Regions from separate parts of the Homo sapiens genome. Here region 1 is linked to region 2. The links are contacts of gene promoters, found by promoter capture Hi-C in blood cells and fetal thymus (Javierre and others, 2016). All regions are on one chromosome and are shown on one strand. Each heading gives the region's core, a stretch centred on a gene start or on the middle of the fragment in contact. The rest is flanking DNA. Distances are from core to core; before and after follow the strand shown.

What was found. Contacts are between HindIII fragments. The CHiCAGO score rates a contact against its expected background, and 5 or more counts as called.
Region 1: a contact is called between a fragment that was not itself captured here and the fragment with the promoter of TINAGL1 in region 2, in 1 of 17 cell types (M1 macrophages). The highest score is 5.4, in M1 macrophages.

Annotation. Positions count from the first base shown.
Region 1 is chr1:31,415,855-31,421,787 of GRCh38, reverse strand. All of the region lies in intron 1 of SERINC2 (serine incorporator 2), which reads right to left. Among named protein-coding and RNA genes, the nearest start is that of SERINC2, 5.6 kb to the right of the region's middle. The HindIII fragment of the contact is 1,435 bases long and covers 1,011-2,445 here.
Region 2 is chr1:31,571,792-31,578,078 of GRCh38, reverse strand. It overlaps TINAGL1 (tubulointerstitial nephritis antigen like 1), which reads right to left and starts at 1,564. Exons shown (of 12, transcript NM_022164.3): 1 at 1,484-1,564; 2 at 621-945. The coding sequence starts at 930. It overlaps LOC105378626 (a long non-coding RNA gene), which reads left to right and starts at 182. Exons shown (of 6, transcript NR_188671.1): 1 at 182-235; 2 at 2,409-2,669; 3 at 5,776-6,044. RefSeq lists an enhancer at 1,033-1,753. The HindIII fragment of the contact is 15,245 bases long and covers 1-6,287 here.

The DNA of each region.
Region 1 (5,933 bases), core at 479-2,978, 160 kb after region 2:
CAGCAGTCAGGAACAGGACACTGGTTTTCATCCTAAGAGCGGTGGGCACCCACTCGAGGGGCTGGAGCCAAGGGTCAGGAATTGAAAGATGAGCTTTGAAAAGAGCAGGCTGGCAGGGGCCCCTTGCTCCTCAGAGACCTCTGCTTTTCTTTCTGGACTGGTCACAAGGCACACAGCACACCCTGCTGGCGGGCATCTGCCTCCCCTCTTACTCTCCCCCAAACTAGAAATGCTCCTCGCCTATCTCTCGTTCACACAGATGCTAAACAAAATGCTTTGGAAACGAAACTATTCCTCATGGTCTAAATTGAAACAGTCCACCTGTCCAGCAACTTCTGGTTACATCTTGCAGCTGCCACCCCAAGACCTGCCTCCTATCCATGGCTGTCCTTGGTGGGTGAGAGGATAAGAAAAGCCTGAAAAATGTTTTAGAGGCCATAAAGCAGTGGTCCCAAACCTTTCTGGTACCAGGAGCCAATTTCAGGGAAGACACTTTTTCCACAGATGGCAGCAGGGGTGCTGGCAGGGGGCAGATATGGTTTTGGGATGAAACTGTTCCACCTCTGATCATCAGGAATTAGATTCTCATAAGAAGCACGCAACTTGGATCCCTCGCATGCACAGTTCACAATAGGGTTCGCACTCCTATGAGAATCTAATGCTGCCACTGATCTGACAGGAGGCGGAGCTCAGGCGGTAATGCTTGTTCACCTGCTGTTCACGTCCTGCTGTGTGGCCCAGTTCTTAACAGGCCATGGATAGATACTAGTCCATGGCCCAGGGGTTGGGGACCCCTGCTATAAAGAACATTCTGGGTATCAGTTAGAGCAGCTTATTAGTCCCATTTTACAGACGTGGAAATTGAGACCAGAGGGACTAAGAGACTTACCAGAGGTCACACAGCAAGTTGATAACAGCACTGAGATTCAAGTAGTATTAGTGGCAGCTACCATTTACGAAGGGTTACTCAGTCCCAGGCACTGTGATAAGCACTTTATCTACATTAAGCTTCACTGATGCTATGAATTGTGTGGTAACTTTCCATTTTCAAATGGGAAAACTGAGACAGAGAAGTGGCATGACCAAGGTCACACAGCAAGTAAGCTGAGGAGCTGGGATGCAAATTCAGATCTGTGTGCACCAAGGGCCAGGCTCTGCCTACAGGACTACACTAGTTCCAGCTCGCTAATTCACTGATGGTCATCTTATTTAATTTAAATACATCCCAGTGATGAAAAAACAAACAAACAAACAACAAAAAACCCAATACCAGAAAACCAAGGGAGGCCAGTGGGTACTGATCTCAGGAGCCAGGTGCCCAGGTGCCCTGTCAGGTCCTGATGCTGGCTTGTTACCATTTAATTTCAATTTGAGACATCTGAGACACAAGAAAGCTGTTCCGCTTTCAGAGAGCTTGGCCTTTCAGTTCGCTCTGGTTCTTAAACATCAAAATCCAGGTGTTCCTAATGCCTGAAATCTCAGGATTTCCAAGGGCCTGATCAGCAGCCAGAGAGACCAGGTCAAAGAGAAAAACACACACTGCTTCCAGAGCATCCTTGGAAATGTTTGTCCACCTTGCTCCATTCACCCCACCCCAGAATGGCTCCTACAAGAACCTCTTCCATTTGACCAAAATGTCATTTTATATATATTTAAATCTCTTCCTACAGAAATGCCAGACCATTGGAGTAAGGGCAGATGTGTGCACATATATACAAACACATGGAAATTCATTGTGGCACTGATCATAATAGGAAAATAATAGGGGGAAAAATTTTTGAGACAGGATCTCGTTCTGTCACCCAAGCTAGAGTGCAGTGGTACCATCTCGGCTCACTGCAACCTCCACCTCCGGGGCTCAAGCAATCCTCCTACCTCAGCCTCCGGAGTAGCTGGGACCACAGGCACCAGCCACAATGCCCAGCTAATTTTTCTTTTTGGTTTCTTGGTTTTTGTTTCAAGAAAGGATTTGGCTCTGTCACCCAGGCTGGAGTGCAGTGGTGTGATCTCAGCTCACTGAAGCCTCAACCTCCTGGGCTCAAGCGATCCTCCTACCTCAGCCTCCCAAGTAGCTGGGACCACAGGCATGCACCACCACACCCAGCTAATTTTTGTATTTTTTGGTAGATACAGGGTTTTCTCATGTTGGCCAGGCTGGTCTTGAACTCCTGGGCTCAAGGGATCCTCCCACCTTGGCCTCCCAAAGTGCTGGGATTATAGGCATGAGCCACCATGCCTGGCCATTAGGGGAAAATTGAAAATAACAAAACGCCCATCAATACATCATGGTATTCCATAAAACGGATTTCTCTGCTGAATGGGGCAAATATGTAGGTAACACTTAACTTGGGTACATTTCATTGTATACAAATAATACTTCAATTAAGTTAAATTTACAAATATAAAAATAAAGATTTTTATATAAAGAAAAAACTTAAATAAGCTTTAGGTTTTGTGAGCCTATTGGAGTCTCAAGAAACTACAAAAAACCTAAATGTCTAACACCTGGGGACAGCCGTGGCCCTTTCACTCCATGGAATGCTACAGAGCCAGAAAGATGAATTCCCTGGCTACAGAGCCACATGGAATAATGCTCATGATGCAGTGTGAAAGGAAGGCAGACTGGAAAGCTGTTCCCACACTACGATTACAACCACTCCCCTCTTCCTGCAGATGCACTCAAGGGCAGCAACAGAAAAGCCCCAGAACACTTACAGTGGCTGAATCTTAGTACCAGCCCAGGTTCTCAGAATGGAGAACTCAGAATTTAAGAAGCCCCAGGCCTCAGAGCCTTACAGCTGCAAGGTTCCTTGGCATTCAACCAATCCATTCTCTTTCCAATGAAGAACCACCCAGAAAGCATCTGGCCATCCTCTGCTGCTTGCACACTGCCAATGACAAGGAGCTCACTACCTCCCAAGGCAAGGCAGACAGCTCTGGAGCCATGAGTCGTTTGGCATTATGTGAACAGGCTGTCACTGAGTCATTCACATTGTCTCCTGGTTGTCCTCAGAGCCAGGGACAGAAGTTCTTAGAACCACTCATAGGGTGTTGGGTGGGTAAGGGAGGCAGCTGAGGGCTGGATGAATTTTTCTATTTAAAACAAACTGGCTGTCTGGGCGTGGTGGTTCATGCCTGTAATCCCAGCACTTTGAGAAGCCAACACAGGCAGATTACCTGAGATCAGGAGTTTGAGACCATCCTGCCAACATGGTGAAACCCCGTCTCTACAAAAAATACAAAAATTAGCCAGGCATGGTGGCAGGCATTTGTAATTCCAGCTACTCAGGAGGTTGAGGCAGCAGACTCGCTTGAACCCGGGAGGCAGAAGTTGCAGTGAGCTGAATCGCGCCAATACACTCCAGCCTGGGTGACAGAGCATGAGTTCGTCTCAAAATTTAATAAAATAAAATAAAATAAAGTGGCCCTCCACTTCTGGATATATATCCAAAAGAAATGAAGCAGGGACTCACATATTTACACACCCATGTTCATAGCAGAATTATTCACAGTAGTCATAAGGTGAAAACAAGCTAAATGTCCATTGGTGGACGAGATGAATGGATAAACAAAATGTGGTATATCCATATCCATACAATAGAATATTATTTGTTCTTAAAAAGGAATGAGGCCAGGTGCGGAGGCTCATGCCTGTAACCCCTGCACTTTGGGAGGCCAAGGCGGGCGGATCACCTGAGGTCAGGGGTTCGAGACCAGCCTGGCCAACATGGTGAAACCCTATCTCTACTAAAAATACAAAAAAATTAGCTGGGCATGGTGGTGTGTGCCTATAGTCCCAGCTACGCGGGAGGCTGAGGCAAGAGAATTGCTTGAACCCGGGAGGTGGAAGTTGCAATGAGCCGAGATTGTGCCATTGCACTCCAGCCTGGGCAACAGAGCAGGACTCTGTCTCAAAAAAAAAAAAAAAAAAAAAAGAATGAAATTTTGACACATGCTATAACATGGATGAACCCTCAGGGCATTATGCTAAGTGAAATAAGCCAGACACCAAAGAACAAATATTGTATGACTCCACTTAGATGGAGAGAGTAGCCAAACTCATAGAGAAAAGCAGTGAATTGGTGGTTACGAGGGGCTGGGGAGTTACTGTTTAGTGGGAGTTTCAGTCTGGGAAGATGAAAAAGTTCTGGAGAAGGATGGTGGTGATGGTTGCATAACAGTGTCAATGTACTTAATGCTACACTTAAAAATTGTTAAAATGGTACATTTTATGTTATGCATCTTTTACCTCAATTTTTTTAAAAGGGAGGGGGCAGGGAGTTTTCAAAGAAGAGCAGGAAGAGGCGAGAAGGGTATTCCCAGCAAAGAGAATGACACATGCAGAGCTACAGGGACACTGTATTTTCAGGGCAGCTGAAAGGGTGAGAAAAGCTACAGAGGTCACGGAAGTGGTGGTCAATGTCCCTGTATGCCATGCCAGGGAGTCTGGACTTCACCCTGAAAGCAATGGGGAATGATTGCGAAAGAAGAGGAATGACAGCAGATTTGCATTTTAGAAATATCACTTTGATCACAAAAAGACAGGTCATGGGGTAGTGTGTGGTATCTTTGGGGGAAGGGAGGAGAGTCAGGGGCTGTTGTCAGTAATCCAGATGAGGGCTGACAGTAAGAAGATGTTCTGGAGTTACCGTGTGCCTTAGTTGGCACTACTCCTTCTGACAATGCCATTCGTTTGGGATTAATTTTTATTAGGGTTGTATTTATTAGATCTCCATTTTAATATACATGTCTTCTAAAATAAATTACAGGCTGGGTGTGGTGGCTCATGCCTGTAATCCCAGCACTTTGGGAGGCCGAGGCCAGTGGATAACTTGAGATCAGGAGTTCGAGACCAGCCTGGCCAACATGGTGAAACCCCGTCTCTATTAAAAACACAAAAATTAGCCAGGCATGGTGGCGCACGCCTGTAATCCCAGCTACTCGGGAGGCTGAGGCAGGAGAATCACTTGAACCTGGAGGCAGAGGTTGCAGTGAGCCAGAATGGTGCCACTGCACTCCAGTCTGGACAACAGAGCAAGACTTCATCTCAAAAAAATAAAGTAAAATAAAATAAAATGAAATAACATACAAACTCCTTGAAGACTAAAATAAAAGGTTAAAAGAGTAAATTTTTTAACATGTATTTCGTCACAGTTTAAAAAATGCAAAACTGGCCCAGGCAAGCATGCACCTTGCCGCCTTCATGAACAACTCCGTAACTGGCTGAGCCGCCCCAGGGCTAGTCAAAACACAGCAGAGAAGAGGTCAGCCGGAAATGTCCCAAGGTGCACTTACTTCCCCCATGCAGTGCCAAGAATGCAGGTCCTAATGCTGGCTCTGCCACAGCTTGTAATCTGACCTCAGGCAAGTCTCTCCTCCCCTCCATGGGACTCAGTTTCCTCATCTGTAAAATGATCTCCTGGGGTAGGAGAGTACAGGGGCTCCGAGCCCAGGCTCTATAGTTAGGCAGCCCTGGGTCTCACTGGCTTCAGCACTTCCTTGCATGTAGTCTTGAGTCATGTACTACTGTGGGGTGTTTATGGACCGGCCACTGCACACCAGCTTGGTGCTAAATATGCAGCTGTGCTAACCTCAGTCCCATTTAATCCTCACAACAGGCTAAGGGGCAGACACCATTGTTTTCTCCACTTTACAGACAAGGGGATGGGCAAAGTGACTGCCCACAGTCACAGAGATGCGAAGAGGCAAAGCTAGGATCCGAGTCCAGTGGTCTGACCCAAAGGCCTTTCACACTCCCTAGGATGTGCAAGACCCTCCTGAAATCTTTGCAGACAGCCAAGTCATCATGTGCCGGCGGCTTGCCTGGTGGCCCCATCCCCTGTGGACCCATCTTACCTCCCCATCCAAAGCAGGACCCACCTTCAGCCCAGTTCACCTTCAGCCCAGTTCCAATGCTGAGAAGCACAATCAGC
Region 2 (6,287 bases), core at 315-2,814:
CTTGGAGATGGGGAGTGGGAGGAGCATGGGGAAGCCAAGGCCCAGAGAAGGTAAGCAACCGTCCTAAGATAACACAGCACTCTTGAGATGACAGCTCAGGTATGCAGTCTGCCGGCCCAAGCCCCATGGAACTGTGGGAAGGAACGCAAGTGATTCTCCTATTGGACAGGGGCAAGTGCATGGAAAAGGATGATGGTGAGGCTGAAAGCAGGAAAAGATTTGACCCATCTCCCAGGTATGAGCAGCCATCTCGGGGCACAGGATCCTAGAATCCTCAGCAAAGGCAGAAAAATGGCTAAGATGACCCTCACCAACCCATATGTGCCTTATCAGCCCAAGAGTGAGTCAGCAGGTGCGGCCAGCACCTTCCGTGTCTGGAAAAGAGACAGGATTGGGAGAAAATGTGGGAGGTTGCCCTTTCCCTGGGCCAAATTAGAATTCTAACCAAGGAGCTTCTTCAGTCTTGCTGGAGAGTAAAGTTCCCAGAGGGGCAGGGAAGAGTCCCAGATTCTACAGAGCTTCCCCTGGAAATGTCAGTGCATCCATCAGCTTTGCTCTTGAGCCTTGCTGAGTCTGAGGTGGACAAAGTGACCCACCCTCCTGGCCATCTTAGTGCCCACCTTGGATCGGGGGAAAAGGGGGTGGCACGCCGAGGCAGAAGTCCCAGAAGTCAGGGCAGCAGTCGGAGACCGTGCGGTTGCAGAAGAGGTCACAGTAACAGATGGCGCCCAGGTAGGGCAGGGCACAGTCGTCGGCACGGCCGCGGCAGCACAGGTCCTGCTCCTGGCAGTACCGGCCTCCCGCGTCCCGGATGCCCCGCAGGTGCAGACCCGGTGCTAGCTCCCGGCGCCCACGACCCTGCTGGGCACCCAGAGCCAAGTGGCCAGCCAGCGGCAGCAACAGCAGTAGCCCCAGTGGACATCGCCACATGGTGGCTCCTGGGCCCTGGGGGGCAGAGATGGTGGGCAGCAGAGACTCCCTGGAACACCAGGGATGAGTCTCCCAGTTTCCTGGAGCTGTGAGTTCAAGAGGGCCCAGCAGGGAGGGAGATCCCGATTCCTGAGTCCCCAGGCAGGACACGGGCAGAGGAGCCCCAGTGTGTGGGCCCTGGCTATAGGGGGATGGGGACTGGGCAGAAACGGAGCCCCTCCCTGACCTAGGCAGGGACCTTCAAGGACAAGGAAATGAGGGTGGTGGCATTCTTGGTGCTCCCACCCAACACTCATCCTGTGGACCCAAGGTCTTCTCTCCTGTCCTAGGTCTCTCTGCCCTCCAGCAGCCTCCATCCCTGACCTGGGTCCTTGACTTTGTGCTTTCCTGTCTCCCCCGGTCTTTTGGGTACACCTCTCTTCTGTTCCTGTGTCCCTCTGTCCCCCTCCACTGTCCCTCTCTCTGCCATCTGTCTTGGTTCCTCTACCTGCCCCCTCCCCCTGTTTCTTCTCTGTCTACACCTTCCGCCCTCTGAGCAGGGGAGCGTCCCTACCTGGTGAAGGTGTGGGCTGGGGCCCAGGCTGGCCCGCGCGCCTCCGCCTCCTGGCTCTGCGACCGCCGGACGCTCAAAGTCAAGAGAGGAGCGCGGGGCGGGGCGCTTTTTGTACCGCCCGCCCTCTGCACCGCCCCAGCAGTGGCGGAAGGGAGGGGCGCCTGGCTTGTACCTGGAGTAACTACCCCACAACTCATGGGCTTGCAGGGTGGAGAAACGACAAGCACACGATTGTCCTGGCTGGGTCTCCTGTGGCGGAAGCCGTTCCCTTAGGGGAACCCCAAGCAGGAAGGATTGCGGTTTCACACTGGGAAGGACTTCACAGTGGGCATCCCTGTGGAGCTGAGGGGCTCTGGTGGAGAAGGGGGGATATGGGCAGCCGAGCTCTGGGTTATGGACACAAGTTTGGGAAATGATGGGGAGGGCATGTGAGGCAAAATTCTGTAAGCCTCTCCTGACCCCTCGGTAATAAAAATAGCCATGCACACCCCTCTCCACTGTGCCCCCTAGGCTTGGGTGCCGCCCCCCTAGCCACCCCAGCTCCTAGGAATGATTGGAATTCCAGGAGTATGATCCTTAGGTGCCCTGGGCGGCTCATCCCTGGGAGGTGGGCAGGGTGTGGGGGTGGCCTCTGCACCCTTTGATCCCTTGTTGAGTCTGCCTTCCCTTGCCTGCTTGGGCCCCTAGACGAGCACTGCCCTCTCTAGCAAACCCAAGGGCATCCTGCTTGGCACCTGTCCCCCTCCAAGGGTCCAAAGGCAAGGGCCCTACCAGCTGGCACCCCCTGCAGAGGCCCTCCTTCCTGCCGCAGGCATAAACCTTTCTTTGCCCAGGCTGGCCTGGGACCCAAACAATGGGGCTTCTGTCCCGCCAGGTCTGCCGTCACCTTTTACCTCCCTATTGTGCAACGCCCTCTCTTCAACAGGTTGGGCCCAGGCCAGAGGTCTCTACCAGCAAAGAGGATAAAAGAGACTACACCTGGACAAACCCTCCCAGGCCCAGGCCTGAGCCTCACATGTGGCCCCGGGGAAGGCATCAGGGACTCCCTTTGCCCTCCCACTGACCTCCCTGCAAACCTCCCCCAAACCAAGGGGCATCCTCAGCTGGCCAGACCCTGGGGGAAGGGAGAGAGCCGAGGATCACCGGCACCTGTGGCTGGGTTACCCCTGCCATGGACCACTGGGTGGTGAGTCACCAAGGGGGTCCTGCCCTGGTGGTGGGGGTGGAGGGATAATATCCGGGGGCCCCAGCACTGGCACTAACACACCCAGGAGCTGCCCATCTGCTCCCTGCAGGGACCTGGGAGGACAAAGCCTAGGTGGGAAACTGAGGCTCAGAAGAATGCACTTGCCTGAGGTCGTGCAGCCAGAACACAGGCTCCCTGCCTGCCACCAGCCCACTCCTTTACCCCTAGTCACCCTTAGTCACCCACTACAGGTCTCAACGTGCTCCTGGTTGGGAAGTCTCTTTTCTTATCTAAACTCCATTCATCTTACTGCAGGACGGGCCCCTCGGTATTGGTAAATGTCATATCCTCAGGGTAAGAGATGAAAGCTGCTTTCTTTCAAAAGAGTTCGTGTCCAGAGTTCCTACTTTTATGGTACCTACTTTTTCATGGTTCTGGGGCTGGGGGCTTGTTTAGAGACATCTGGCCTCTCTTTTGCCCAAAATCACACCGCATAGGCTACCCTCGTGAGTCTGGGTGTGTTATCTCTGTGTGCATGTATGCATGTGTATATCTGAGTTGCGGTGTTTGTGGGGGTGTTTCTGCTTCTGCTTGAGTCTGTCAGTCCACATCTGATCGTCTGGGTTTTTTTTGCTTTTTGTTTTTTGTTTTTTTTTGAGACAAGGTCTCACTTTGTCACCCAGGCTGGAGTACAGTGGCGCGATCTCGACTCACTGAAGCCTTGACCTCCTGGGCTCAAGTAATCCTCCCACCTCAGCTTCCTGAGTAACTGGGACTACAGGTGCACACCGCCATGCCTGCCTGAATTTTTTTTGTATTTGTAGTAGAGATGGGGTTTCACCATGTTGCCCAGGCTGGTCTCCAACTCCTGAGCTCAAGCAATCCGCCTGCCTTGGCCTTCCGAAGTGTGTTTACCTGTCTATCTGCTATGTGCCTGTGTATCTGTGAGTCTGGATATTTTGGCTATCTGCCTGTCCTTGTCTGACTGATTGTCTGCTTGTCTATCCATTTACCTGTCCATCTGCTACATACCTGTGCATCTGTGTGTGTGTATCTGTCTGGATGTTGTCTCTGTGTCCATTATGGATCTGTCTGTCTGCCAGCGTGTGTTGTTTGCCTGCATTTGTGCACTTGTTGGCTTGTATGTCTGTGTGTGTGTCCTGCCTGTGCCTCCCTGTCTAAGAGGTGTCTGTGTATCTGTGTGGGAGTTGTGGCCATCTGCCTGTCCTTGTCTGCCTGCCTGTCTGTGCATAAGAGGCAGGGACTCAGAGCAGGGGATGGGAGCAGAGCCAGAGCCTCCCACCATCACTCAGCTTGGCACAGAGCCCGCCCCAGTGGAATTTTGTGACTCACTGGGTTCCTTGGCCGAGGAGGAAAAGGGCAGGGCCGGGGGTGCTGGACACCCCCACTTTCCTTTTCCATGACCCTTTGACCCTTTGCCTCCTAGTGACTCCTAGTGACTCATTGACTTATTATTATTTTTTTTGATGGAGTCTCGCTCTGTCGCCCAGGCTGGAGTGCAGTGGCGTGATCTCAGCTCACTGCAAGCTCTGCCTCCTGGGTTCAAGCCATTCTCCTGCCTCAGCCTCCTGAGTAGCTGGGACTACAGGCACCCACAACCAGGCCCAGCTAATTTTTTGTATTTTTTTTTTAGTAGAGATGAGGTTTCACCATGTTAGCCAGGATGGTCTCGATCTCCTGACCTTGTGATCCGCCCGCCTCAGCCTCCCAAAGTGCTGGGATTACAGGCATGAGCCACCATGCCTGGCCGACTCAATGACTTATTCTTGAGCAAAGTGGGGCCTTATCCAAGGGCCTGGGACAGAGCAGCAGAGGAGGAGACACCAGCGAGACTTCCCCCTCTGAGCCCTTCCGGCTTTTCAAGAGGCAGGTAGCCTAGGTCCCTGTGGTGGTTTTGTCCTCCCTTACTCCGGACCCCCGGCAGCGCAGCCCCTCTCTGGGCGTTGGTACCAACCTGTACCCAGATGCTCCCTGGAGGCCCTCTGGTATTCTCTTACTTTTACAGAGGGAGGTGAAGCCAGAAAGGGACAGTGACAAGCCTAAGAACACACGGCAGAGCAGAGGGCTCTCCTCTCTATGGAGTCCCAGAGCTCCCCACACCCCACAAACTTCACAACTGCTCTAAATGCTCGGAATCAGCCATTCTCCTCTGTGAGCTGAGCAGGGCTTTCTGGGAAGACAAAGACCTGTTGTCTGCTCACCTCAGGTCCCTAGCCGAGGACCTGATACTTGAGGCCTGGGAGTTCAGATGCTCAGGGCCCAAACAGCACCCCATCCAAGGCTGGGGCTCCTTGTGGTTCCCTGTGGTCAGTGGGACATGTCCAGAGCTCAGGTCAGTGCTCCCTGGGACTGCATCTGAGACCCTGTCCAGGCCTAATACTGTAGCCGGTTGGGCCATGTTGTGATATGTTGGGGCTTCCCAGGGCTCATGGACTGTTTTGTAGAAAGTCCCACATCAAGGGCTGCATGACAGTCAGAGTGTGGTGCTGTCATAGCACGCTGGAGCTTGCAGCAGACAAAATTCCAGGCCATGTGGAAGTGTGTTGCGCCACGCAATGGCATGCTTTACTATTTGATTTTCTCATTCATTCAACAAATACTTGTTAAGCATTTACGATGTGCCAGGTTCTGTGCTAGGTGCTGAGTGTACATTGTTGAACCAAACAGATGGAGTTCCTGCTATTGTGGAGTTTGCAGTCTAATGGGAAGAGAGGCCAGGCATGGCGGCTCATGCCTGTAATCCCAGCAGTTTGGGAGCCTAAGGCAGGTGGATTGCTTCAGCTCAGGGGTTTGAGATCAGCCTGGGCAACATGGTGTAACCCTGTCTCTACCAAAAATTAAAAAAATTGCCTGGGTATGGTGGCATGTACCTATGGCCCCAGCTACTCAGGAGGCTGAGGTGGGAGGATTGCTTGAGCCCAGGAGGCAGAGGTGGCAGTGAGCTGAGATTGTGCCACTGCACTCCAGCCTGGGTGACAAAGTGAGATTCCATCTCAAATAATGATGATGATAATAATAATAATAATAACAACGGGAAGATAGACAAATACATAAGCAAACCATCCCCCCGCCCCCCCACCCACAGATCAAGAAGTCATTCCAAAATGTGAAGCGTTCTGAAGATATGCACATAGCGTAAGAACCTGGTGTAATGTGCTGGTCAAGGCGGTCTCAGAGAGGAGATGACGTTTGAGCTGACACCTGAGGGATGAGAAGAAAGCAGCCATTCCCAGGGCCCAGGGGAGGCATCCCAGGAAGCCGGATCAGCATGAGCAAAAGCCCTGAGGCCTGGCACAAGTTGGTCTGCTTGAGAAGCAGGAGAGAGCCCTGAGCATCCGGAGTGCAGCAAGCGAGGTGCACAGAGGAGCAGGAAGGGGCTGGGAGAAGGCTGGGGCCGGATCATGCAGGACAGGCTGGAGGAAGGGGCTTGAATTGTCTTCTGACCACTGAGGGGATATAAACATGAGGGCAAAATCATCTGATTTCCATGTGCAAAGGCCCACTCTGGCTGCTCTAGAGAGAACAGATGATTGCAGGGTAAAAGTGGATTTAGAGAGGTCAGATGGAGGCTGGGTACGTGCCGTGTATGGTAGATAG